7 separate regions of the Homo sapiens genome follow, and regions 2, 3, 4, 5, 6 and 7 are each linked to region 1. Evidence: promoter capture Hi-C in 16 types of primary human blood cells and fetal thymus (Javierre and others, 2016). All regions are on one chromosome and are shown on one strand. The core of a region is centred on a gene start or on the middle of the fragment in contact, and the rest is flanking DNA. Distances in the headings are between cores, read along the strand shown. Region 1 holds the start of PYROXD1 (pyridine nucleotide-disulphide oxidoreductase domain 1). Region 2 overlaps ETNK1 (ethanolamine kinase 1). Region 3 has its middle 3.3 kb from the start of C2CD5. Region 4 overlaps C2CD5 (C2 calcium dependent domain containing 5). Region 5 overlaps C2CD5 (C2 calcium dependent domain containing 5). Region 6 overlaps C2CD5 (C2 calcium dependent domain containing 5). Region 7 has its middle 98 kb from the start of C2CD5.

Region 1 (2,904 bases), core at 277-2,776:
GTTCTCAGCATGCTAAGACTCCTTATGATCTATGCTTTAAGCTTTACTGCTCCCTGATGATCCATGCTTTTCCACTGGAGATGACATTCTTTTCTTGAATACTTGGTAAACTTTCACTCATTCTTTCATAATGAGATTTTAAAAATACCTTCTTTGATTAAAAAAATTTCCTCTTCCCTAATTCACTCCCTACATACTCCACAGGCACCTCTAAGATAACCGTTGATATCTCTTGCATAGACATACAATATTGTAATATTGTCTCTTCCAGCAGGCTGTGAGTCCCCAGCATGGTATATACCATGCTGTTCATAGTTGAACACTCAGCCCTTAATACGGTGCCTGCATCATATATGTTTACTTAGTGAATAAACGGAAAATACGCATCCAACGATGGAAACACTTGAGTTTCTTCCACTATTTCTTATGACTTCAGTGATTGCTCATGTTTACTTTATATCAACAAAATAATGTAGAACTTTTTGGAATACACACATGTATCTGAATATATATGGTCTGGCTATTCAGTATAATCAAGAAAGCAAGCCCTACATGCATTTAATCCTTCGCTGATTATTTTACAAAACTTTACTAGAAATAAAGTTTCTTCTATCTTGGGAGTTCGAAGTATAGAAAACTTACATATGGGATTCTTTATTAATTAGTTAAGATGCACTAAAGACTTGGCAACTATCTGGAAACTAAACTCAATCACCTACGATAATTAACAAAGGGGGCTGAGGGCCGGGTGCTGTGGCTCAGGCCTGTAATGCCAGCACTTCGGTAGGCGGAAGCGGGCAGACTGCTTGAGCCCAGGAGTTCGAGACCAGCCTGGCCAACATGGTGAAAGCCCGTCTCTACTAAAAATACAAACATTAGCGGGGCGTGGTGGCTGGCGCCTGTAATCCCAGCTACAGGCTGACGCAACAGAAGAATCGCTTGAACCCGGGAGGCAAAGCTTGCATTAAGCCAAGATCGCACCACTGCCCTCCAGTCTGGGCGACAGAGTGAGACTCCGTCTCAAAGAAAAAGAAAAAAAAATAAAAAGAAAGGGGGCTGAATTTTTTGTCTAAATACAAAGTCCTCATGTCTGCTCTGACATTACAAGGATCTGAGCACGGATCAGCCAGCTTTGGTTTCTCGGCTATAATTTGCCTCCCACTCCTCCCTGCGCCTAAGAGAAAGCTAGTGAGGTCATCTGAGGACCACCAAGCAGTTTCTAAAATCTGGGAGCAATAAGTGCGGAAAAGGGCGCAGCAAAAAAGGAACCCGGAAGAAGAAAAAGGGAGGGGGTGGGAGGAAGGCCTCCAGTGCTATCCCCTTTGGGGTCGGGGAAAGAGGCGGAACCGCCTGAGCACCGCCCTACCTGCTCCGCACAAGTGACGCCCGCGATGCCGCCGCCGACCACCACGAACTTCCCTGCCGTCGGGGGAGGGCGCGCTGCCTCCATGCTGCCGGACTCCCAGTGGTTTACTGAATATCGCGGCGGAGCAACGGGACTCTGGACTCCAGGAGAGGAAGCAGCCGCGAGGCGGTCACTTCCGGTGCCTTACCAGATAATCCGACCTACGGGTGCTCGGGAGCTCACACTACTCATCTCGAGTACCTGCTGCCGGCTGCGTTTCGGAAGCAACGAATTGTCTCGTGGTGTTCAGAGCTTTGCGTTACTATTACTACACCTGAATGTAGTTATTCCATGAAAATTTGACAAAGAGAAAACCAAAAAATTAAAAATAAAAAAGTAAAGAAGATGGGTTGCCCAAAGAAGTTTGATAAATTACATATCTAAAGATAGACCAGTGTTCTCACGGGACAAAACATTCATATAATAAATGAATTGGTGTGAAGTTCTCATTATTTGTTTCTGCGAGAAATTAGAGGCACAGATTTTATGCTCTTATGAGTAGAAGGAGCCTTCGGGAACATCCTGACCCCACTCCTGTCATTTTTGTAGATGAAGAAACTTGAGTCTTCTGAAAACCACTTGATTGCCACCGTTCACCTAACAATCCAAGATTTTTGTTTGTGGAAGCACAAAAATTCTTCATGACAAGGCAAAACAATACTACTGAATTGTTCTCTAAAAAATCATCCTTTTCATTTACAACTTTGACCTCAGCTAAAGTTTCCAGGAAGAATGTACAGTTGCTTTCCATTTTGTCAAAACAAATGAACATTTCTTAAATTTCCAGTCAATAGCAGCATGTGTGAGGGTTGAATGAAATATTCCCAGTCTCGGTTTTACTGTGAATTTTTTTCGTGGTCAATTGTTTTTAAGAAATTGCTAAATCATTTTTAACTGTTTTTACTATATTATTCACTATTCATATTATTTTACTATTTACTATTACCTTTGCTGTCTCATATAACTTTCCCTAGGAGTTGTTTTGTAATGGTAAGGTATTATCTCTCAAATGGTTCACTCTAAAACTGGTAATTACCCGAGTCCCTTTAATTCTTTAAACACTGAGAATAACCATTATATATTAACAGGAAAGCCTACCACGTATCTAATTACAGGCATTTACTGATACCTGTAAAAATCATTGTTCTTTGATTTACCAAGTTAAATGGTAAGCGGTTTAATAAACGTGTCTAATTCCTGTTACTAGTATAGCAACCAAACAAAGCATTCATTTCTAGGAGGAGGAAATACATTCCTTAAGCCCATTTAGATCTCATCTTGCTTCAGCTTATTTTCACATTATCTCACTCACACTGTGTTCCATTCAGGCCACACTACACTTCCAGATCCCAGGATATGCCATTTTCTTTCTGAGCATTTGCACATATCTTTTTCCCAACTACTTTTCCCTGGCTAACTCATCAACCTTTGGTTTCATCAAGCCATTGCTTCCCCTTTAAGATACTTTATCTAACATCCTCAAGACAGCTAGGTGTCCT
Region 2 (2,904 bases), core at 218-2,717, 1.2 Mb before region 1:
GCTTAAAAATATCCAGGCCAGGTGCGGTGGCTCATGCCTGTAATCCCAGTATTTTGGGAGGCCGAGGTGGGTGGATCACTTGAGGTCAGGCATTCGAGACCAGCCTGGCCAACATGGTGAAACCCCGACTCTACTAAAAATACAAAAATTAGCTGAGCATGGTGGCGCACATCTGTAATCCAAGCTACTTGGGTGGCTGAGGCACGAGAATCACTTGAACCTGGGAAACGGAGGTTGCAGTGAGCTGAGATCACACCACTGCACTCCAGCCTGGGCTACAGCGAGACTCTGTCTCAAAAAAAATAAAATAAAATAAAATAAAATACAAAAAGAAAAATATCCAGTGGCTTCCCATGATGTCCTAAATGATGAGTAAGCTACTCAAAGTCTAGCTTCATTGCCTTTGTGAGATAGTTTTCCTTGCTCAGAAATGTTTCCCTTTTCAATCTGATCTCATCTACCCTTCAAAGCTTAGCTCAGGTACCCCCACCTCTATGAAGCCTTCTGTCCTACGTTCTTCTATGCCTACCTTGTGCTACAGTTAGTTGTACAAGGACTCTTACTGAAAACTAGCATTACAGCTAGTACAAAAAACACATGTCAGAATTACTGAATTTTAGGAGCTCACAATTCTCTCAGTTGGGATGGGAGAATTGGAAATGAGAGGTGGAAGAACGTAGTACCAAAACATGCGATGCGTAATTGTAGGTATTTCATTGAATTCTCATGACTACTTTCCAAGGTAATACCATTTTATAGAGACTTTAAAACTTGCCAAAGGTTATAAATGGCTGGAAATAATATTCAAAAACCATCCTCTTTCCACATTATGCTCAGTCCCCAAAAAGATGTGACGCAGTTTGTGTAGTCCAAGTTACATGGCTATTATACAGGAAAACAAACTAGCACTTTAGGCTCCTGTCTTCATAGTCACATCTTAATAAAATACATGGGAGCCTAACAAATATTTCATGTTTTTGATGGGCGTCTATTAAACATTATATACTTTATTATTCTAAAATGCTGAAGACAGGGAGGGAATAGGAAACAGAAAACTGGATGTAATCACTAACATTAAAAGTTACACTGAATATAAACCATGACTCCTTATTTGTATCTACAGGACTCAAGATTTCCTATAATCTTAGGGAAAGTAAACTAATATATTGTTTACTTTTTTAATATATTAAAAAATTAGCCGTAACTTACTACATTAGCTTACCTAAGACTTTTCAGAAGCTACTGCTTAAAGGAACAAACTCATCTTTTTAAAAACAGAAAAGAAAATCAATTATTATATCAGAACACTAGTGGAGACATAACTTAACACAGCAATTGTATAGATCTGGCTTTTTCTTCTTCCTTTAAGGCAAAGACCAATATAAAATATCAACTATCAATATTAAGAGGAGTTACAGGTTTTTAATAGATTATTTAGGTAACTACCTCCAACACTGTTAGAAAGAGGAAGGATATGAAAACTGCTGTGTAGCTACACAACCTAACACAAAGATTAATTTCCATGATAGAATACATATGCTTAAAAAAATGATGAAAAGATTTTTTAAAATATGCATTCAATAACAGGCAAAAACCTGTAGTAAAGCAGAAAGAACAGTACATTTTTTAAACTTCTTGGGTAATCTTTGCATGTGAACTAAATTTGAATGTTCATTCCATAAACATTACGTTGTTATAATTTTCTTATTTGTCTTCCCCATCGGACTAGGAATTTCAAAGAGCAAATATTTGTTTTTTGATTCAAGTATCCAATATATAGTAGGTGCTCAGCAGCAATAATAATTATCATGAAAGACAGCATTTATTTTACCCTCACAATAACCCATTGAGGTAGGGACAACTACTGGATCAATTTTACAGCTCAGGATACTGAGACAGGAAGTTTAATGATTTGACCAGAGTAACAAAGCTAGTAAAGTATAGAATCTGGACTCAAAACTAGCACTGTGTTCAAACCCCATGCTCTTGAGCACTGTAACACACTGTTATTGAAAAGCTAAGTTGCTATAAGGTACCATATAGCAAGCAATCTCATTTAGACCCAACAAAGGAATAAATATATTAGTTTTGTAATGTTAAATAATAATTACGGTATTAATTCCTACCTATGAAGCCTTTGCCATTATCTACTATAAGTCCCAAGTAATGGAAAAATTCATAGTGACAAGTTAGTGAGAAAAACAACGTTGCTTAATACTGCAAACAGAAAGACCCTGAGACAACATAACTGGAATATTCCAAACACTAATTCATCAGCTCTTCAGAAAATGAAAAACAATTTTAAGAGTCCGTTGAGAATTATTATGGACCTGAGATCTGACTTGATTCTTTATTCCTTTATACGATGACTCTCCAAAGAAAAGTATAAAAATTAAAAATCAAAATCTTCAAATAAGTTAAACAGTTGTTACACAACAAAAGTAACTCGTGAAGGAAAGCTTAAGTAATCCCTTTTTCCTAAAATGGTGTCACATATGAAAAAAGTAATGCAAATTTATGTTCAAGGGAACTTTAAAGCAGAATCTTTTTATGAGCCAAAGCTTTTAAGAAATTAATTTTATACAGAAGCACCTTCCCTGCCTAAATCATAATATACAAACAAAACTCTTGGTCATAGAACAATAATTCATAAGATGGTTTATCATCTCAGATCTGCCATTTGTAAACGGCAAATTCAGTTTCATTAACTATATGATACATATTAACAGTACCGTCTACATCTACCTCACAGGATAGTTGGGAGAATGCATGTGAAAGTGCTTTATAAACAGTAAAGGATTATTAAATACAAAGCACTGTGGCTGTATTGTTGTTTTAGATTTACTCTGCCTATTCTGCTACTATACTCCGAAAACCTCACCATCTCCTTTATAATTTATTCTT
Region 3 (2,904 bases), core at 214-2,713, 1.1 Mb before region 1:
ATGCAGTCCTTATGCCCATGGTACATTAAGTATGGTATGGTACCTTATGCCCATGGTACATTAAGATACAAGGGAACTAATAAGATGATGAGTTTACCTAGATGCCTACTTATCTCATTTTTACTCCTTAATCAAAGCAAAAGTGAGCCACATGGTGGCTCACACCTGCAATCCTAGCACTTTGGGAGGATGAGGCAGGCAGATCACTTGAGCCCAAGAGTTCGAGATCAGCCTGGGCAACATGGGGAGACCTCATCTCTACTAAAATATAAAAATTAGCCAGATGTGGTGGTGTGCGCCTGCAGTCCCAGCTATTCAGGAGGCTAAGGTTGGAGGATCACCTGAGCCTGGGAGGTTGAGGCTGTGGTGAACTGTGATCTTGCCACCGCACTGTAGCCTGGGTAACAGAGTGGGACCCTGGCCCAAAGGAAAAAAAAAAATCAAAGCAAAAGTAACTGAACTGAGCCCAAGTTGTCATTTGTATAATTATACTTGTAATCCCAGCCCACTTTCAAACTTAAATCAGTGAGTTTCTGGCTTGAGCAATTGACTATGTAGTTGGCATTGCTGTTTAGTAGAAGACTACCAGGTCTTTTGTTGTTGTTGTTGTCATTCTCGTTGTTGTAGTTATGGGAAAGGTAAAGAAAATCAGGTCAGTTTTGGACATCTTGACTTTTGAGGTCACTTTTGGACATCTTGACTTTTGAGGTCACTTTGATACTCCAAATGGAAATAGTAACTTGGCAGTTGCATATATGGGTCAAGATCCCAGAAGCGAGTTACAGACTAAAGATAACGATTTGAGAGTCCCTGACTAAACAGATGGAAATTAAAATTGTGAGCTTGGATGAGATCACCTAGGGAGACAGTACAGTTGGAAGAGAATAGAGACAAAAACTGAACCTGAGAAAAACACATATTTAATAGTTAAGGACAATGAGTAGGCTGAGAAGACAGATGTATAAACCAGAATAGGTAAGAGAAGCTTGGTTTCTGAATACCAAGAGGAAGATTATTTTAAGGACAGCGTGGTCAACAGCATCAAATGCTACTGAGAGTCACGTAAATAAAAAACTGAAGCCAGGCATGGTGGCACGTGCCTGTAGTCTCAGCAACTTGGGAGCCTGAGGCAGAAGGACTGCATGAACCCAAGGGTTTGAGACCAGTCTGGGCAACACAGCAAGACCCCATCTCAAAAATAAAAACTTAAAACTAAAAAAAGTGTTCATTGCATTTAGCAACCAGAGGTTATTGATGGCATTAGTGAAAGCTGTTTTTGTAGAGTGGTGGTGGCTAAACCCAGATATTAATAGTTTTTGGAGCGCTTAGGAAGTGAGGAGAGGGCACCAAGTACTGACAACCCTTGAGTAATTTAACCTGAAAGAATGGGAAAGATTAACAGGAACATTTTAGGAAGCCAGGAAAGAAGAGCAATCTAAGTAGTAATAGCAAGTGTTAACTGTTAATTTAATTCCACAATAATTTGTTGATCACATGAAGGGCACAGGACAAAGAACTGAGAATTGAGAGATGAGTGAGAAGCAATCCATTCCCTCAGAGTGCTCATGGTTTAGTGGGGGTTGGGGGGGAGAGAGATGGATAAATAATTATTGCATGGAAAGTATAATAACAAATGTATTAGATTTAGTAGTAGCATAGGTGGGAGTGAAGAGCATATTTATTAGGAAGGAGATTAGAGAAGATGTAGAAGTGACTTTTGTAAAAGGCAAAAGATTTATACACTCTAAAGAGAAACCAGAGTATTGACTTTTGAACTGAGTTATGAATTCATAGCTATTTGGTAGGATGACTATGAGAGAGATACTCCAGGAAGAAGGAAAAGTATAGTTTATTAGAAAACTACATGTAATCTTCAAAGACGTGAGTTCTTGGAATCACATTGTCTAGATTTAAAACCTGCCTCTATCATTAGAAGCTTTGTGACCTTGGGTAATCACCAGAGCTTTGAAAAGCCATAATTTTCTCATTTATAAAATGAAGGCTGATAATTCCTACCTCAGGATTTTAGGGAGCCTTAACAGCTGTGAAACGCTGAATTCAGTAGCTGGTGTGCGGCAAACCATCAATACACGTTAATTCTTGTTATTGATAATTTAAAATGCAAAAAGAGTGTCAGGGTATGAAGCTAAACAAGGTAATCAGGAGTCACATCATGGTAGATTTGTCAGAAAGTTAGCACTGTTCCCAGCATTAATGAAAACAAACGAGAACAATTATTAGGAAACAGTTCAACTGAAGTCAGGCTTAAATCTACTAAAAATAGTTTTCAGGAAGCATCTTAATTATAATCTCTTGTTGATGAAGCCTAAGGCAACAAGTACGTACAAGTACCTCAAAGTCTACTAATTAGGAGGCTGAGATTGCTAACCTCTAATTGTGCAATTTGCAACTTTTTACATTTTGGAACACAATGCATTATTTTCCATTAATATTGGTGCTAAACTTCAATTTTCTAATATTTTTTCTTTATACATTTCATATTTTAAAAAATGAGTTGGTAATACGGTAATACTTCGATTTCACCACAAAAACGACTTCAACTCTACCACCCAAAACAACAAAAAACACTGATCATGCCGGGCAAGATGGCTCATGCCTGTAATCCCACCACTTTGTGAGGTCAAGGCAGGAGGATGGCTTAAACCAGGATTGAGACCAGCCTGGGCAATACAGGGAGACTCCATCTCTTCAAAAAATTTAAAAAACTAGCGGTGCATGGTGGTATGTGCTTGTAGTCCCAGGAACTTGGGGGGCTGAGGTGGGAGGATCGCTTGGCCCAGAAGATTGAGGCTGTAGTGAGCTATGATCATGTCACTGCACTCCAGTGTGGGACACAGAGTGAGTCCCTGTCTCTAAATAAATAAATAAATAAAAAACGTTGAT
Region 4 (2,904 bases), core at 159-2,658, 1.1 Mb before region 1:
ATGGAGCCTGGGTAAAGTTTAGCTCTTGCAGGGTAAGGTGTCATTCTTCAGTGAAAGAGAACAAGGGAAGGAAAGTATTGATTTGCTTGAAAGATGCTTTGATCATGCTGGGGAACCTGCCAAACTGATACCTGAAGATGGAAGAAATGACACTACGATTTTTAGGCGCTGCTTTGCTTATGGTTTATATTAGGACCGTGATCTTTCTTTTAGTGTTGGAAGGCACATTCTGTAGTGGTTGGGATACTGCATAGCTGCCCTCTATTGGAAAAGCTTAAAGGTCTGGATTAAGAGAAAACAAATTCTATTTCTGGTGCCTGCTAATTTGCAGATGACCTCAGACAGCCTTACCATTTGGAGCCTCTGTTTTTTTTCAAACATGAATTCTTTCCAGAGTAGTATTGAGGTGGCTATGAAGCATGTTGCTGTATGTTAATATGAGTTGCACTAGTCAAAAAAAAGAGAATAATATATGTAAACTTTTTTTTTTTTTTGAGACGGAGTTTCACTCCCGTTGCCCAGGCTGGAGGGCAATGGTGGGATCTTGGCTCACTGCAACCTCTGCCTCTCAGGTTCAAGCGATTCTCCTGCCTCAGCCTCTTGAGTAGCTGGGAGTACAGTCATGCGCCACCACACCTGGCTAATTTTGTATTTTTAGTAGAGACAGGGTTTCTCCATGTTGGTCAAGCTGTTCTCAAACTCGCGACCTCAGGTGATCCACCCACCTTGGCCTCCCAAAGTGCTGGGATTACAGGCGTAATGCCCGGCCTGGGAATAATATTTTTAAATCACTCAGCATTTTGGATAGACATTCAGCGTTTGGCAGAAAGTGGGTTTAAATATTAGCATTTTGGGGTATATCTTCTGTTCTTTCGTTAATGTATAGTTTAATTAGTCTGAGTGGTGTAGGTGTGCTAAAAAAATAGAACTGCAGTTTGAAAAGCTTTTGTTGCTAAAATTAAATCTCAGTTTGTATAAGAAAGGTGTACCTCGTCTGTAGACTCAGCATTTATGGACAGTGACAGCTTTTATTTATTATCTCTGTGGAATATAACTGTGTTTCTCAAAATTACGACCTCATCAGAGTAGCTTGGCTGTGTCTCAGTCTTCTGTCAAAAGGACTCAGTTATAGAAACAGTTATTCTTAACCTCCCAGTAGCTTTTACCCAAAGGTTTTCAAGCAAATGGATCTCTCTAAGGAAGGTAATTTCTAGTTTCTGTAAACTCCTCCTCTTTTAAAATGGACTTCCATGTTATCTGCTAGAACATTGAACTGGAAGTCAGTAAATTGTTTAGGACTTTACCTTTGAGGCAAGTTAAAAAAAATCAGTTGGACATAGATGTAAGGATTTATTTCCGCACTCTCAACTCCATTCCATTGGTCTGTATGTCTGTCTTTATACTATTACCATACTGTTTTGATTACTATAGCTTTGTAGTGAGTTTTGCAATCAGGAAGTGAGAGTCCTACAAATTCATATTTTTAGTTGATATTTTCATGGTGAAATATTTTGATTCTCTTCTCATTTTCTTTTGTGTATATGTACAAATTTTTCTTTTAGCTGCTTCTAAAATGCCACTATCTATTTTGAAAGACCCGTTGCACATGTATTGAGTCTATTGTGGCATTTTAAACTACATTATTAAGGTAAAGGTGTGGAATATATGTGTCAAAAAATAATCAGAGTAACTTCCTTACATGATTTCAGATGGATTTAGAATTAGAGTCTATCTTCATTACCCAGGCAAAACACTGGGATGTTTATATAGTTTATTTTGATAGCCTTTCCCCCCCAACTATAACCTAGAAATGGTTAAAAACGAATAGTTTTCATTACATTGTTATTGGAATGGTGGGAGGAGGCAAGCTTCATGTGTCAGAGTAATTTTCATGATACTAGGAAATATTAAAAAATGATATTTCATTTTAATGATGATGGTAATAAACTGGTATTTTTTAAAGCTAGTGAGTACTCAAGCAGCTTACTTAACAATATGAAAAATAATATATTTATTTTCTGAAATAAGGGATTTACCAGGCAGTTCCCTTAAAATTTCTTAAGTTAGTGGCTGGGTGCAGTGGCTCACAGCTATAATCTTGGGACTTTGGGAAGCCGAGGCAGGCGAATCACCTGAGATCCAGGGTTCAAGACCAGCCTGGGCAACAGAGTGAAACCCCGTCTCTACTAAAATACAAAAATTAGCCGGGTGTGGTGGTGTGAACCTGTAATCCCAGCTATGTGGGAGGCCGAGGCCCAAGAATCGCTTGAACCTGGGAGGCAGAGGTTGCAGTGAGTCGAGATCACGCCATTGCACTCCAGCCTGGGTGACAGAGTGAGACTCCGTCTTAAAAAAAAAAAAAAATTTAGTAAGTTACTGTTTTGACTAGTCTTCCCGAATAATATATATGCTGTGAAAAATGTACTTAAAACTTTGTGTTTATAGTTAACATTGATTATGTAGTACTTTTTTTAACCCTGTTTATCAGTTGTTAATTGCATTCAGTTATATATATATATTCAGTTTTAAATATATATACACACACAGTTGTGTATATATATATACACAGTTGTATGTATACATATACACATAGTTGTATATATACAGTTATATATATACTGTATATATATACACAGTTGTATATATAGTTGTTATGTATACAGTTGTGTATAATATATATACACTGTGTGTGTGTGTGTGTGTGTGTGTGTGTATATATATATATATATATATATATATATATATATAGCACTCAAATACATGTCTTAAGCAAAATAGATGTTTTTCTCTTATGTGAAAGAAATGTCGTGCCAGGCAGTGTAAGGGTAGTGTGGTTGCTCCACGCAGTCATTTGGGACTCCATCATCTATACATAGCCTGTGGTTTCTCTTAAAGTGATTCAAG
Region 5 (2,904 bases), core at 298-2,797, 1.1 Mb before region 1:
TCTCTCCTCCAGTTACATATGATTATGTTCATCCTAGCAGCTGGCATTATAGTTTCTTATTCTCAAGTCGTCTGACCCCACTTAACTTTCAACCATATTTTGGACCTCAGTATCACTTGAAACTGTTCCGCCTTAAAATTTTGAAACTATAAAATTTTACTCTCAGATCACAACTTAACGTTTTTCTACCAATATCATTTGCTCTTTTATATCTAGTTTGTTTTGACCCTTACCTTAACCAGTTGTTTTCTCAGCTCCTTACTTAGTTTCTGGCTTTTTTTGTTCTTTTGCCATCCTTGAACCCTACTTTCAGCCCTTCAGAAGTTTACAGTTGATATCATCTAGAAACTGTTTAACCTTCTGTTATCTTATTTTTCTACCATCTATTCTTAGGTAATTCTTACTGTTAGATCCTCTGCTCTTGTGGTGATCCTTATTGTTAGGGAAAAAGAATTAAACTGTAGTAAATGTGGTCATTACAGAGCCATATTATTTAATCTTCTGTGGGCTTTTCTTTTCCTTTGCAGATCATGTGTTATACTCCTAGACTGTTTATTCCCATAGTAGCGGTTCTACTCTTGTTAACTACTAACTTTGTCAAGCTTATCTTGCCTTACTCCCTAGTTGTCTTGCCACATTGATGGTTTTAATGTCATAAACTTTGAGGCCTTAGAAAAATGTTTTTTGTTGTTGTCGTTTTTTTTTTTGTTTTTTGAGATAGAGTTTCACTCTTTCACTCAGGCTGGAGTGCAATGGTGTGATTTTGGCTCACTGCAACCTCCACCTCCCGGGTTCAAGTGATTCTCCCACCTTAGCCTCCTTAGTAGCTGGGATTACAGGTGCCTGCCTTCCTGTCTGGCTAATTTTCATATTTTTAGTAGAGATGGGGTTTCGCCATGTTGGTCAGGCTGATCTCGAACTCCTGACCTCGTGATCTGTCCACCTCGGCCTCCCAAAGTGCTGGGATTACAGGCGTAAGCCACCACACCCGGCCAGAGATATGGTTTTAGAAGGCATAGTTCTTGGTATCACATTTACATTCTACTGGATAATTATGATGTAAAATAAATTTTAAGATTGAGATATAGGATGCTTTGGGATCCTAGAGGGCTGAAAGCTCAAAGTAGAATTGGAAGAAAATGTCAATGAAGTAACTGATGCTTGAGTTGGATTTTGGGGGATGAATATGAATTATATAAATAAAAAGAAGAGGCATAAGGAGAGGTTTCAAAGCTTACAAGATGCATTCAACACTTAAAAGAGTAGCAAAAAAAAGAAGGCCACAGGATGTAGACTCAGGATGGCTGATGATAGGTCACAGATGGAGGAGTCTGCAAATGAGTTCAGTTAATTTACCTAGAAGTTTGAGTTCATCTGACAGATGTCATCTGACAGAGGTCCTTTCTAGACCTCAAAAACATCTGTGTATTTAAATTTTAACTAATCTTTTCTGTTCCAGCCCATGCTACTTTCTGTTACTGGATTAAACTCTCTGAAATGCACTTCTGCTCTTATAACTTCTTGATTCGAAGACATCAGTGGTTTCATGTTATTCCTTCTGACATCCTTAATTCCTACCTACACTTTAAGCCTGGTCTTCCTTTATTTTATTTACAGTTCAAGTGACTGTTCCTCCCTTGTTCTCTTAGGCTTCTGTTTTATTTTATTTCTGGGTTTTATTTATACCTGGTTTTCAGCAGTTCATCCCTAGGTTGCTACTTTTCTCATTTGTTTAGGTGATCTCATTCAATAATTATGTTGATTGTTTAATTTTTTAGCTTTCAAATTGGGTGACATATAATAATTTAAAAATTATTTTGAATATCAGTTTTCTGTTATATGATGATGTAGTTTAAGCTTCATTTAGTATATTTTGTATATTGTTTCAGAAACCTTTATAATGATTTAAATTTAGATTAAGCTATATAAATCACCTATATAGAGATATTTACATAGTTGTGCTTTTAGAATAATTTTAATAAAACTTCATATACATTTAAAGAGTATTTTAATATAGTTTCATTGATTAATGCTAGATTCAGCAATACAATTTATTACTGCTTATATTTTGAAACATTTCATTCTTTCAGCCTTGCCATATTTTAAATGAAGTTATTGTCTTTAATATTAATACTTTTATCTTTTTTCAGTTTTTAATTTATGAAGAATTCTTTCCCTCCATTCAAATAAAGTTACTTCTGTTTTCTAGGCTAGGTTTAGGAGGTAAACCTCGTAAATATTATTTAATATTGAGTAGAGTCTAACTTGAACTTAAATTGTCACTGTTATAATTATTTTGATATTTAGCATTTCCCAAAGTTATACGGTCTGAAAAATGTTAACTTGTTTGTGTTTTTTCCTTTATAGTGAAGAGGTCTGCATTTTATCTGCATCTGGCACAGCGGCTGTACTGAATCCTAGATTTCTGCAGGATGGCACCGTGGAAGGCTGTTTGGAACAGAGGTTGTCATGGCAGCCTGGCTTATTTTCTATAAGGGCAGAGAAGGGAGAGGTCGACTTTTTTTCTGAGAGTTGGGATAATTCTTCTCCGTAGGGTGGCTTACAGGGGTACAGTGTAGAAATCAGGACCAAGCACTTCACTAATTTTTAACTAACCCGTAGTAACAGAGGAGTATTGGATTCTGCACTATATGGCACACATTATTGTTTCTAGTGTCTTGATAAGTGACATGTATGATTACCAGTTGAAGAATTTCAGGTGTCCATTTTTTTTTGCTTTGTCATGATATAGAAATAATCTTTGGATCTTTCTCTTCCTTTCATTTCCCTGTGTCTCACCTCCAAAAACAGAAAGAGGTTATGAAACAATTTTTATAAAAAACAATTCTTAATTTACAAAATAGTAAAAGTACTGCATTTTATCAAGATTATCTGTAGATATAA
Region 6 (2,904 bases), core at 199-2,698, 1.0 Mb before region 1:
AGGATCTGTACCCATCATGTGGGATTTCACCAGTTCCCATTTTTTAGAGAAGGTTCTTGAGCTCTTTCTGGAATATCTAGATTTAGGTATAACTGTTTGGTATAGTTGTAGTTTGTGTATGATTTGAATTTATACATAATTCTGGTTGAGGATTTTAACCAGAAAAGGTATTTGGTGTAGGTTGTTCCGTGGTACTGAAAAAAATATGTAAGAAACTTAGTTTTGGCAGTGATTATTTTGCTAACCATTATTGTTTTTATAATTCTAGGTTACAGTCACGGCAGTCGCAATCACTTTTGACAAAAATCAGGCTTTACAAACCACAAAAACCCCTGTTGAAAAGTCATTGCAAAGAGGTAAATCTTTACTGAATAGGAAGTTCAGTTTGTGTTTGTCTGTGTTATGGTTCAGTGATAAAATATACAGGACAGGTGGATTCAATAAATTACTTATTTCTTGAAGAATATTTGCTGCTTTTTCTGTTCATCTTTATGAAGATAACTGTGTGGATAAGCGTATGGCTGACTTGATATTTTTCACACGCGACTGGGTGGTATTTGACTGATGTTTACATAGAGAATGCTGCTGGTTTTTTAGACTTAAATTATAGCCTATTAATTCTGCAGTAATATAAGGGTTTCTATACTAAGATCTCTGGCAAGGTCTTCAAGGCATCTGAGGACCTACTGATGTAGTAAGCACAATTGTGTGCCTGTGTATTATTTTCAGGACAAGTTCCATAGTGTTCAACAGATTCACAAAGGTGGCCTTAATCCAGTAAAATTTAGGAAGTAGTCTTAATATATATTCTGAAGAAATCCAAATTATTGGAAACTGTGTGTTCTGAAAAACACATAATGGGGGATACTATACTTTCTTGTATAGTTTGAATGATTTACTGGCTAAATGAAATATTCCTGATTAGTCCTAAACTTTTAAAAGTTGATTACATTCTACATGTATAGCATTGATAAGATTTGAGCAGTGAGTTAATGTCAGGTAGATGTATTAAATGATTATGTGTTCAGATATTTATCAAAGAAGACATGTAACCGGTTTAAGTATCACAAAAGCTAGTAATGGACAAAGTATAGGATATTAATTATTGTCTAGCATTTATTATTTGCAAAGCACTGTGCTAAGTGAGTTACAGATATTAATCTCTTAAAGCTTCACAAGAGTCATACCAGGGAAGATAGCACCAGTCTCAGCATCATGCAGATGAATGGTTTCCATGGGAGAAATCAAGGAGAAAATGACCAGAATAAATTGGGGTGGGGAGATGGAGCTGAGAATATGTATATGTATGTTGTCACAGATTCTTAATTTTAAAAAATTAATAATAGATCATTACTAAATAACTGATATTTTCTTGCCTTTCTAGCCTCAACAGATAATGAAGAACTTTTACAATTTCCACTGGAACTGTGTTCAGATTCACTTCCTTCTCATCCTTTTCCACCAGCTAAAGGTTGGTTAAGTGAGGGAAAAAGCAAACACAAATCCTGGTTTCTAGTTCCTTTCACTGCTTCTTCATTATAGGAAATCTTACTAACCTTGAGGTGAAAATTTATCCTTCATTCCCTCATTATATGTTTCTTCATATTCATAAAGGGGAGAAATTAATGTTCCTTTTATTTTAATTTCTGAAGTAATTTCATTCTAAGTTATTAAGGTAATTTTTCCTATGATATTCTATTCTCATACCTTAATGTATTAAAGCTTTATTTTCAAAGGTTTGGATTTCCCACTGTAACTATTCACACATAGAATACTTGATATTTTATATTATATTTGGTAAGTTTTTTCCAGCAACAATTAAACCTTCACAAAAAGTTTTGGATTTTCATGCACAACAGAATGCTTTTTTTTTTCCAGAAGATACATGAAGAGGTTTTGAGTGGGAGTAGTACAAGTGAGAAAGCGATGAGCTTCCTGTCTTTGCTGTGGCAATAATTGAAGAACATTGTTATGTACTTATATAAGACACTGCCATGTTTTTTTTCCAGTGCAAATTGATAGCTCCTTAATTTAATAGCAATAAATCTATTTTGATCTGCATAATCTTTGGGGAAAAGTGGGAGGTATTGTTTTCCATTTCTCATCTGATTTTAGTATGATTTTTATTACAAAAAAATTTAAAATTACTATGCCTTATTTTGTAGCATTATGTATTAGATAAATGTAGTATGTGTTTTTCACTAAATTTATTTTGAGAAATGATAGTTATTTGAAATGAGCTATTCAACTTTTATGTCTTATAATACAATGGATATTATTTTATGATTCCTACTTGTTATTTGATACCAAATTATGTATAATACAGAATAGTTTTATATTCACTTTACATATATGTCAATAGAATCTTTATTAAATCAGTACAAAGTCTGTTTATATAGATAAATAGATCTTGTCTCATATTTCAAAGACGAAAAATAAGCTGCTTCCAGATTCTGAACTTTGTAACGTAGTAACTGTGGTCCTTTTTCCTTTTTGTGATCACCCAAAATTCTGATTTAGAACTCCATAGAGAATTGTAGCATATCTCAATGTCCTTGAAAGAATAGAGAGGAAAAATCAAATTCAAAGGTAATGTGAGTTCAGATTTATGAATTAAATACAGCTTCCAGGCAGAAAGCAGAACTGTCAAGAGTCTTCTTTGGGCCGGGCCTGTTGGCTCATACCTGTAATCCCAGCACTTTGAGAGGCTGAGGCGAGAAGATCGCTTGAATCCAGGAGCTTAAGACCAGCCTGGGCAACACAGTGAGACCCCAGCTCTACAAAAAATAAATAATGAGCTGCATGTGGTGGTGTGCACCTGTGATCCTAGCTCCGTGGGAGGCTGAGGTGGGAGGATTGCTTGATCCCAGGAGGTTAAGGCTACAGTGAGCTGTGATTGTGCCA
Region 7 (2,904 bases), core at 261-2,760, 1.0 Mb before region 1:
CCCAAACTTGCTGCCTATTTACTCACATGGGACTGTTTGCTCCTGTGGGCTACCTTTGAAGCACAATCATCTGGACCAAGATTGGTTCCTTCCAGAAAGGCTAATGTTAACCTACACCCCAAGAGCTGCTGCTCTTTCACTATGCGTACATTACCCCTGAAACATGAGCATCTGGAATGGACATGCTGGGACTTACTCTTGGAAATAGGCCAGTTTACAGCATTTACAGCAGGCTTAACATGCCCTTCATCTTTCATCACTGCTTCTAGGGGCAACGACTCAATTTAAACGAACTCACTGTCGCACTTCCTCCACCTCCTTCTCTCCCATGATGCATTGTCATCTGGCTTTTATCACCTGTTCTGCCCTTGAATTTGAACATGCCAAAGATATAAGTATTGGATTGCAGTCTTGCAGTATTATTTGGTGAGTTTTTTTTTAATGCATACAGCTTTTTCATAAGTGCATAAATGGGATTATATAAACAATGTTTAGAGTAGTTTTCTTTTTTACCCTTTTGCCTGGTTTGCTCTTCTTCCCTATCACATCCCTTCCAATCCATGTTAATAACCTAGTGTGTGTCCTTACATATTTTGAAAAATCTGTTAGATATAATTTAAATTCAACAAAATTCATCTATTTTAAGTGTATAGTTTGAGGTTGGCAAATATATTCCATCATGTAGCCAAGATATGGAACGTTTCCATCACCAATAAAGTTCCCTGGTGTCCCTCTGCAGTCAGTCTACTCCCCCTTCCATGTCAGTGGGATCTTGTGCTCAGCAACTTTCATTTGGCATAATGCTTTTTGAGATGCGTCTATGCATGGACAACATTTTTGGCCAGTAGGAATAATAGAGCTATTTTGCATTTGAGTTTGCACTTTTTTTGTGAAAATGAAAATTTCTGTCCTATGGGGTTGACTTTTTCTTGTTAATATTTAATCTGCTGTGTGTGACAATTTCCCCCCTATTTTGTTGTCTATCTTTACAGTAACTTTTCACAATATCTATACTTTTTGTTATGGACAGTGTGACCATCTTTCCTTTTTTTTAGCTTCTTAGTTAAATTGACCTCTATTCTCTCTTTGATTTTTTTTTTGGTGTGGGGGGGCTGTCCTTAAGCTTCATCAATTTTCATACATCTTGAATTGCTCTTTTGTTAGTATGTCTCCATCAGTAAAAATTTACTATTTCTTATTTCCATAAATGTTGTTACTACTTAGCCGGTTTAGCTTGAATCGGAAGTCTGGGAGATCAAAACCTATCCTCTTCCCAATACGCCACCTAATCTCATGGCACCAGTGCATAAAGACGTGGAAGCATAAAAATGTGTGTTGTGTGGAAGCAACACATTTATTTACAAACCTTTTTTTTCTTTTTCCCTCAGAGGAGGGTCATTTTCAGAGTACTTTTGGTAATCCGATCTAAGCTTTGGACCTTTTTGTCCCCCAAAATAAGCATATACATGAACTTTTGCATACTACTTCAGGAGGTTTATTGAAACCACTTATTTGACCCCAGGCTGAATAAGGAACCACGCTGAAGAAAATGTTAGGAATGGTTGGATAAATAGTATCCTAGGAAGCTTGGCTTCTTTCTAATAGAAAAGTCAAGGCACTATAAAGACTCTCAATCTCTCTCTCTCTCTACATATATATATATAATTAAATATAAATATATTTATAATATAAATCAATATATTATTTATATATAATATAAATAGTTAATAGATTAATTATTAATATATATTATATATATTATATATATAATATATAATATATATTTAATATATATAACATTTAATATATATAACATATTTCTATATAATTAGATATATTTATATATAAATTATATATTAATATACCTATATTGATATCTGAATTTATATAAAGTAGATATATAATTATATATAATTTTTTGACTTTTTTTAATAGCCAAAGATTGCAGATATTAATCTTGTACAACAGTTGTTTTAAATTATATATACATTGTGGAATGACTAGATTGAGCTAATTAGCATATGCATTACCTCACTTTTTTCTTTTGTGGTGGGACCACTGAGAATCTACTTCTCTTAGCAATTTTCAAGAACACAATACATTATTAACTGTAGTCACCATGTTGTACAATAGACTCCTTGAACTTATTCCTCCTATTTAATTGAAGTTTTGTATCCTTTGACCAACATCTCCTAAGGCCTCACCTCTGGCAACCACCATTTTACTATCTACTTCTATGAGTTCAACTTTTTTAGATTTCACATATACTATGTAAGATCATGTGGTATTTGTCATTCTTGCCTGGCTTATTTTACTTAACATTGTGTCTTCCAGGTTCATTCATGTTGTTGAAAATGGCAGAATTTCCTTCTTTTTAAAGACTGAAGAGCATCCCATTGTGTATAGATACCATATTTTCTCTATCCACTTATCTGTTTGTGGACACTTAGGTTGATTTCATAACTTGGCTATTGTGAAAAACGCTGTAATGAACATGAGAGTGCAGATACCTCTTTGACATACTGATTTCATATCCCTTGGAAACATGCAGAGTAGTGGGATTGCTGGATCGTATGGTAGTACTATTTTCAATTTTTTGGGAAGCCTCCAGACTCTTTTCCATAATGGCTGTACTAATTTATATTCTTATCAACAGCGTGCAAGGTTCCCTTTTCTCCACGTACTCTCCAACAAAGACTATATTTTTACATATAAAAAATAAAAACATAAAAATGGTTCCTCTGCTTTTTGAAAGTAAGACTGTTGTTGTCTATAAAAATCCTTTTAAATATTTGTTCATTGGAGTTTTTTTTAAAGACTATATTTTTAAATATTAACAAACCTCAAAATGTCTATGGTAAGCAGAATAATGGGCCTTCAAAGATGTCCCCAACTTAATCCCCT

The links. Contacts are between HindIII fragments. The CHiCAGO score rates a contact against its expected background, and 5 or more counts as called.
Region 2: a fragment that was not itself captured here is called in contact with the fragment with the promoter of PYROXD1 in region 1 in 9 of 17 cell types (non-activated CD4 T cells, total CD8 T cells, total B cells and 6 more); the score reaches 11.7 in non-activated CD4 T cells.
Region 3: a fragment that was not itself captured here is called in contact with the fragment with the promoter of PYROXD1 in region 1 in 6 of 17 cell types (total B cells, naive CD8 T cells, non-activated CD4 T cells and 3 more); the score reaches 7.4 in total B cells.
Region 4: a fragment that was not itself captured here is called in contact with the fragment with the promoter of PYROXD1 in region 1 in 3 of 17 cell types (naive CD4 T cells, non-activated CD4 T cells and total B cells); the score reaches 5.8 in naive CD4 T cells.
Region 5: a fragment that was not itself captured here is called in contact with the fragment with the promoter of PYROXD1 in region 1 in 1 of 17 cell types (total B cells); the score reaches 5.4 in total B cells.
Region 6: a fragment that was not itself captured here is called in contact with the fragment with the promoter of PYROXD1 in region 1 in 2 of 17 cell types (total CD8 T cells and naive CD4 T cells); the score reaches 6.6 in total CD8 T cells.
Region 7: a fragment that was not itself captured here is called in contact with the fragment with the promoter of PYROXD1 in region 1 in 1 of 17 cell types (total B cells); the score reaches 6.3 in total B cells.

Annotation. Positions count from the first base shown.
Region 1 is chr12:21,436,277-21,439,180 of GRCh38, reverse strand. It overlaps PYROXD1 (pyridine nucleotide-disulphide oxidoreductase domain 1), which reads right to left and starts at 1,526. Exons shown (of 12, transcript NM_024854.5): 1 at 1,367-1,526. The coding sequence starts at 1,450. RefSeq lists enhancers at 1,378-1,567, 1,618-1,697. The HindIII fragment of the contact is 2,746 bases long and covers 961-2,904 here.
Region 2 is chr12:22,628,022-22,630,925 of GRCh38, reverse strand. The region is part of intron 1 of ETNK1 (ethanolamine kinase 1); the gene reads right to left. Among named protein-coding and RNA genes, the nearest start is that of ETNK1, 4.3 kb to the right of the region's middle. The HindIII fragment of the contact is 1,989 bases long and covers 473-2,461 here.
Region 3 is chr12:22,546,415-22,549,318 of GRCh38, reverse strand. No RefSeq gene overlaps it. Among named protein-coding and RNA genes, the nearest start is that of C2CD5, 3.3 kb to the right of the region's middle. The HindIII fragment of the contact is 951 bases long and covers 988-1,938 here.
Region 4 is chr12:22,529,921-22,532,824 of GRCh38, reverse strand. The region is part of intron 3 of C2CD5 (C2 calcium dependent domain containing 5); the gene reads left to right. Among named protein-coding and RNA genes, the nearest start is that of C2CD5, 13 kb to the left of the region's middle. The HindIII fragment of the contact is 925 bases long and covers 946-1,870 here.
Region 5 is chr12:22,489,682-22,492,585 of GRCh38, reverse strand. C2CD5 (C2 calcium dependent domain containing 5) reads left to right here. Exons shown (of 27, transcript NM_001286176.2): 12 at 2,368-2,463. Among named protein-coding and RNA genes, the nearest start is that of C2CD5, 53 kb to the left of the region's middle. The HindIII fragment of the contact is 624 bases long and covers 1,236-1,859 here.
Region 6 is chr12:22,468,276-22,471,179 of GRCh38, reverse strand. C2CD5 (C2 calcium dependent domain containing 5) reads left to right here. Exons shown (of 27, transcript NM_001286176.2): 21 at 269-356; 22 at 1,385-1,471. Among named protein-coding and RNA genes, the nearest start is that of C2CD5, 75 kb to the left of the region's middle. The HindIII fragment of the contact is 552 bases long and covers 1,173-1,724 here.
Region 7 is chr12:22,444,730-22,447,633 of GRCh38, reverse strand. No RefSeq gene overlaps it. Among named protein-coding and RNA genes, the nearest start is that of C2CD5, 98 kb to the left of the region's middle. The HindIII fragment of the contact is 156 bases long and covers 1,433-1,588 here.